Regions from separate parts of the Homo sapiens genome. Here region 2 is linked to region 1. Evidence: promoter capture Hi-C in human tissues and cell types (Jung and others, 2019). All regions are on one chromosome and are shown on one strand. The core of a region is centred on a gene start or on the middle of the fragment in contact, and the rest is flanking DNA. Distances in the headings are between cores, read along the strand shown.

The links. Contacts are between HindIII fragments. The study calls those that stand out against the background at their distance.
Region 2: a fragment that was not itself captured here is called in contact with the fragment with the promoter of DIO3 in region 1 in 2 of the 25 tissues and cell types used here (H1 embryonic stem cells and thymus).

What each region holds. Positions count from the first base shown.
Region 1 is chr14:101,559,734-101,563,002 of GRCh38, reverse strand. It overlaps DIO3 (iodothyronine deiodinase 3), which reads right to left and starts at 1,508. Exons shown (of 1, transcript NM_001362.4): 1 at 1-1,508. The coding sequence starts at 1,506. The coding sequence ends at 592. DIO3OS (DIO3 opposite strand upstream RNA) reads left to right here and starts at 2,581. Exons shown (of 2, transcript NR_152588.1): 1 at 2,581-2,751. MIR1247 (microRNA 1247) reads left to right here and starts at 2,581; the gene lies at 2,581-2,716. The HindIII fragment of the contact is 20,870 bases long and covers 1-3,269 here.
Region 2 is chr14:101,219,127-101,222,395 of GRCh38, reverse strand. No RefSeq gene overlaps it. Among named protein-coding and RNA genes, the nearest start is that of LINC02285, 100 kb to the right of the region's middle. RefSeq lists an enhancer at 75-851. The HindIII fragment of the contact is 9,586 bases long and covers 1-3,269 here.

The DNA.
Region 1 (3,269 bases), core at 259-2,758:
AGTGGGGCTCCTGTGCACCCAAAACAAGCGGGGGAAACTACCCTGCCCACCCCTCCCCATCCACGACATCACTTCCCCTACCAGGGACAGGAAACAGACACAAAAGCAACAGGGAACCCCCTCTCCGCGCGCGACAGGTGGGTGCCAGGCAACTAGCTCAGCTGAGCTGAGAGTCTCCTGGAACCCAGCTGCGCTCAGGGCGCGCGGGCGTGGCCAAGGTCTCTGTGCAGCTGCGGGAAGCACCGGGCCAAAGCACTTGGCTGAGGGCACGCTGGGGAGGGGGTGTAAGAAAATGCTGTAGAGGCAAAGTCCTGGGGGCACACGGACAAGGGCAAGCCATATCCCGCGCTCAAAAGAGGATTTCCAGTGAGCCAGGCAGGTGTGAATGAGACAGTTACAGAAGCAGAGTCCCAGGGAGGTAGGGGAGATTGTTCATGTGGCTGAGGGTGCAGACTCAGTCTGAAATGGTGGCTCAGCACATCAGTGTCACTGGGGCCTCGCCAAGCGTGACTTGGTTTGAGGCGCTTGCACGTGGGCTTCGAAGGCTCGAAGGCCCAGCCCACCAAGTTCAGTCAATTGTCCGTTGGATGTTTACACCCTCCGGGGCCGAGCGCCGTGCAGTTGCTCATCATAGCGTTCCAACCAAGTGCGCAGCTCAGAGACCTGGTAGCCGTCGGGGCCACGGCCGCCCTGGTACATAATAGTGCCACTCTGGATGACATAGAGACGCTCGAAGTAGGCGCCATAGGCCGAGCTGCTGGAGTTGGCCATGGTGTCGAGGACCAGAGCGCAGCCGGGTGCACCTTGCTGCAGTACCCTCGCTGCGCTGACCCGGTCCTCCAGGCTCCGGTGCTGTGGGATGATGTAGGGAGAGTCCGTGGTGACCCAGCCGTCGGAGGGGTGCGCTTCCTCGATGTAGATGATGAGGAAGTCGACGTCGCGCTGGTACTTAGTGACCAGGCGCTGGAAGGCGCTCATGCGCGCCATGAACGGTGGTCAGGTGCAGCTGCCGAAATTGAGAACCAGCGGGCGGTTCCCTTGCGCGTAGTCGAGGATGTGCTGGCTCTGGAAGCCGTCGGGCAGAACCACCTCGGAGTTGGGCGCCGGACCGCCCTCGTGCGCCTGCTTGAAGAAATCCAACTTCTGGCCATGCCACACCGCCTTGAGCGACGCCAGGGTGCACAGGCGGTTGTCGTCGGACACGCAGATGGGCGGGTCATCGGGAGGCACCTCCTCGCCTTCACTGTTGAGCTCCACTTCGGGCTCGGGCTGCCCCCGGCGGCGGCGGCCCAGGAAATGCTTGCGGATACACAAGAAATCGAGAAGCCAGAGCATGAAGGCCGTGCCGAGGAAGCGCGGGAAGAGCACGAGGCACGAGGCGGTCTGGGCGCAGAGCCTCAAGGAGTGAAGCAGCAGGGAGCGGAGCATGGTGGCTGCAGGCCCCGAAGCCCCCTGGGACCCCTCGCCCTCTCCGACCACCAACCGCGACGTGGCCTGGCGAGGCATCTGGGCTTCAGCAGTGCAGGGAGTTCAATTTATAGCGGAGGCTTCAATTGGCGGGAGACTCCACCTCCGGCCCGGCCCGCCCCCTTGCAACTTGAGCCCGGAGGGATCACCCAGCAGCGCGGCCAATGCCCTAGAAATCTTGGGCTGAGGGCGGGCGCAGGCGGGCGGAGGGCGGAGCGGCCGGGCCTGGGGCCGGTGGGGGCGGGCCCGGGCCCCGCAGCCAGCTCTCGGGGGCGGGGGACTCCGGCAGCCGCTGCCGCTGGGGACCGGGAGCCCGACCAGGGACCTGGGCGTCCGCTGGGGAGGTCCTCCAGCTGGCGCGAGCGCTGCGCGCCGCCCTGGTCCCCGCCGCCTGGCTCCGGCCCGCGCCCCCCTCGCCGCGCACCTGAGCCGAGCTCCCCGGCGGCCGCCGAGCCGCGCCGGAGCTCCGGTTCGCTTCCCGCGCGCCGCCGCCAACGCCGCCCACGCCGCTGCCGCTCGTGCGGGGCCGCTGCCCAGGTGCCGCGGGAGGCCGGGTCCGCGGCCGCCGCTTCGGTGGCCCCGGCTCCCGCCCCACCGAGGACGCGGGCCAGCGAGGAGGCAACTTTGCGTTCCCGCCGCCTTCCTGGCTCGCCCGCGGGCGCCGCTCGCCTGCCGGAGCCCGCCCGCCCGCCTCCCGCGCGCGCTCACACTCGCGCCTCGCACACGGCCGCCCCCCGCACCGCCCCGCCACGCACACCGCGCTCCGCGCCCCCCGCCGCTGCCCGAGGCTGCCGCGCGCCGCCCCAGCCCGCGCCGCCCTGGCCGCGCCCGCCCCGTCCCATCTCGTTCCAGCGGGGCGCCGCGGTTCCTGGGTCAGCGGCCGCCGGGGCCGGGCTGAGAGGTGCGGAGGGCAGAGCCCGCGGGCGGGTTACCGCCGGGCGCCGGAGACCGGAGAGCTGGGGAAAGCGGCGCCGGCCCTGCGCCCCCAGCCGACCCGGGCGCGGGGCGCCACGGGCGTGGGGCGCGGGGCAGCGGGCGCGGGGCGGCGCCGGCCCCGGGCGGCTCTCCCACTAGGGGTAGCTGTTGCCTGAACGCCGGAGCGCTCCCCTCTCGCCGCTTGCCTCGCCCAGCGCAGCCCCGGCCGCTGGGCGCACCCGTCCCGTTCGTCCCCGGACGTTGCTCTCTACCCCGGGAACGTCGAGACTGGAGCGCCCGAACTGAGCCACCTTCGCGGACCCCGAGAGCGGCGGCGCGACTCACCGCGGAGGCGCCCGGACGCGTCAAGTGCGTACTTTCAACCGTAAATGGGTGCTGAGCGTTTAGGGGTGCGGGGCAACTCCCTAACTCGTGGGGCCCTGGCCGGCCCTGCCGCGGCGTCCGAGACCTTCTGATCCCTCGCTGCGCGCGGCGCGGGGTTGGCGACTTGGGCTCAGGGGCGGCGGGGCGGGGAGGTGCCTTGACCTAGGGACCCAGAGGCCGGGAGCAAGTCTCCTTTCGCCTTGGACTGCAGTGTCCCCCAGGGCAAGGCCTGAACCAGGTCGCGAGGGTCTGTCTCCCGTCTGGGGAGCTGAACTGCCCGAGACACTGTCGCAGTCGCGGGGACTTGTCTGGAGCGGCGGGGTCTGAGCCCAAGTCGGAAGCCGCCGCCGCCGCCAGCGTCCCGTGCGCCTGCCGCCCCGGGACCAGCCGCGAAACTTCTTCTCGGGACGGAGACAGCGCTCGCCGCCCGGGCCGAGGTAGGAGCTGGCTGGGCTCGGTAGAGCGCGGGCGAATCGCTTTCGGCAGCGAAGGAACGTGTCGGG
Region 2 (3,269 bases), core at 514-3,013, 340 kb after region 1:
AGTTGTGTTGTTTTTGTTTGTTTTATTTTGTTTTGTTTTGCCTCCTTCAGGGTTTATGGGTTGGGGAAAAAGAGGAAGCCAAAAAATTTTTTTTTTTACGTTTTACAAAAGTTTTAGTAAATTGTTCTTGTGCAACTGAAAAGCTGAAGGATTTGAAAGAAATCTATGGGCTAGGGTCAAAGTACCCAAATCAAGAACAGCTTCCTTACTCCCCACCAACCATATTCTTGTCTACCGCCCCCTCATGTGTCCTTTATAGACCTCAGGGCCACAGCCCAGGAGAGGGCACAGGCTGGGGACAAAGGGTTCTAGGCCCCCAGCAGGGGCAGGGGCAGCGGCAGGACAGATCCATGAGGATGGGGCAGGGTCTGAGGGGCCAAGGCAGAGTCACCGGCTGAGAGCATGCAGCGCCTTAGTGAGTTGCTGCTGCCATGACAAATTTCCAAAGCCTGGGCAGCCTACAGATAGCCCAGCTTTACTTCTACAAGTCCGGGAAGCTGGAAGTCAGGTTGCCAACATGGTCAGGTTCTGGGGAAGGCCCTCTCCTGGGCTGCAGACAGCTGTCGTCTCATTGTGTCCTCACATGGTAGAAAGAGGGTGAGAGAGCTCTCTGGGGCCCCTTTTAGAGGGCACTAATCTCATTCGTGAGGGCTCCACCCTCGTGACCTAGTCACCTCCCAAAGGCCCCACTTCCTAATATCATCACTTTGGGGGTTAGGATTTCAACATCGCATCTGGGGGGACACAACCATGCACTCCATAACAAAGAGGGAGACACACCGTGTAGGGAATGGGTCTGTCCATGGCAATGGGGCAGGGGGCTAGGAGTGTGAGTTGGGGACTATGCCCCAGGAAGCCCAGAAGAAGAGCAGAGTCACCTCCCATGACACTTCACATGTCATGGGAGGTGAGCTGTGACCAGGGAGGCTGCAAGGAAAGCCCCCATACTTCATGTGGTGGGGCCTGCCCAGCAACAGAGGCATCACTGGCAGGGCACGATCACTCCTGGAAAGAAGAGGTCACAGCATTTGGGCAGAAGCACCACTCAAGGGTAACTTAAGGCATGGCTCTCTTCTAGGGAGGGGCATGTGGCCACACCGCTGGCACCACTGACGTCCGAACACGGGCTAGGACCTCCCGCCATGGACTCAACTGTGGAAACACCGCGACCTTCTGGGAACACACAGATGATGGCCAGTGTGAGCTGTGCAGTTCGGCTGTCCTCGGTCACAAGAGGCCTGATGAGACCCAGACACTCACCAGGGAAAATGCGATTTCTCATTGGATCTTCCTTCTTGGTTTTGTAGAATAAACATTTGTCAGCTCTGGGAGCACGTATACCAATTAATTACCACTTGGACAGGCTCAGAGGCGCGTGCCATCTGAGGAGCCTGCTCATGGTCACGTTTTCCTCTCTGTGCTCTGCCCGGCCTTGGGGATCAAATTAGGGGGTGGGGTGGCTTTCAGGAGTCCAAGATGTGGAATGAGGCCTCTGTAAGGAAGTTGTGTTGGTTTCCTGGTGGCCTTTATAATTGCACTAGGGTTTTGGTGGGGCAGGTGGGAAGGAGGGAGGAAGCAGAAATGTCACCTTCCTGGTAAGACCCACCCGGACTGCCCTATTTACAAACGTACCCTCTGGTCACCATGATCCTAACGCACCCCTTAACCAGCTCTGTTGCTTTCTTGTTTTCCATAGCAGTGAATACTTCCAACATTCTGTACATAATTCATTGTTCTATTTTGTTTATTTTTTATTTTCTGGTTTAGACCACCTCACTGTCCTCGTGTCCACCCCGAGGGTCGAGCTGTCAGAGCTTGCTCTCCAGTGCAGCTCAAATGCATAGAAGTCACCTGGCTCTCGATAATCATTGGTATGGAATAAATATTTGACAGTCAGCAAATATTTGATGAACTTTTACCTCTCACTAGGAAGGATAACAGGGACTAGAATTCCCCTCCCTCCTGAAGCATCTAAAAATCTGGACAAAACATGTGAAATCAACAATTTTCAGACATGAGACATCAGACAGTTCAAGACGGTAATCCCTGAGACAAACAATGTGAGCCCTGCGATTGCGCCAGCTTGCTGTCTGGAGACAGTTTCCAGGCCATGGTGCAGGGAGGAGGACTGAGACAGAGCCAGGGTCTTTCTGAATTGAGATGGAACTGGGAGTCTGATGAGGCCGAGGCAGCTGGAGTCCACAGGACAGAAGAACGAGAGGCACAGAAAGGGAGTTTCTGAGATGTGCAGAGGGATCTCCCCCGACCCCTAGCATTCAGTAGAGGGCTGATCAGCACATGGGTGGGCAAACTGCATGGGAGGAAAGACCCACCCAGAAGCATTCGCAGCAACAGTGCCCATGCTCACGAAGGGCTGGGAGTAGTGCCTGTTCCCACCAGCCAGACTGGACAATCTCACAGCTTCTGGGCACCCAGGAGAGTACTCAGTAGGGTGTCAGCCCAGTAGTGGGGTGAAATTCACCCTAGACTAAATGATGCTCTGGTCCCACCTAACAGAACTTAAAACCAAGCCTCAAGAGGATCAAACTGTTTCTAAGTAACTTAACTGTGTCTGAAAACAGTATTTATAGGAATATAAACGTCAAGCACCTAACAAGGTAACATTTATGATGTCTGGGATTTAAGAAAAGATTACCCAGGCATGCAAAGAAACAGGAAAATATGCCCTATAATCAGGAGAAAACCCAATCAAGCAAAACTGATTCAGAAATACTAGAGATGATGGAATTAGTCAACCGGATGAGAAAACAATTATTATAATTCTAATTCTCCACGTTCAAGAAGCTTCAGGAAAGATTGAGCATGTTAAGTAGAGACATGTAATGAAAAGAGATGTAAGTCAAACTTCAAGAGCTGAAAATACAATTATCTTAGATGAAAAATATACTGGATGGGATTAACAGAAGATTAAATACCACAGAAGAAAAAAAGATTAGTTAACTTGAAGACATAATAATATAAACTATCCAAAATAAAACATATGGAAAAAACAAAAATTGAAAAAAAAATAAACAGAGAAGAAGGAAGCTATGGATAACTTCCAAAGACCCAAGGAATATGTAAACTAGAGCTTCTGGAACAGAGGAGGAGGAGAAAGAAAAAATATACATTGGAAAAAAATAAAGCAGAAAATTTTACAAATTTGATGAAAACTATACATACCAAGATCCAAGAAGTTTAATGAATCCCAAGTCCATGAAACGCGAGGAAAAGCACACCCAAGCACATCAGGGAAAATTGTAGAAAAT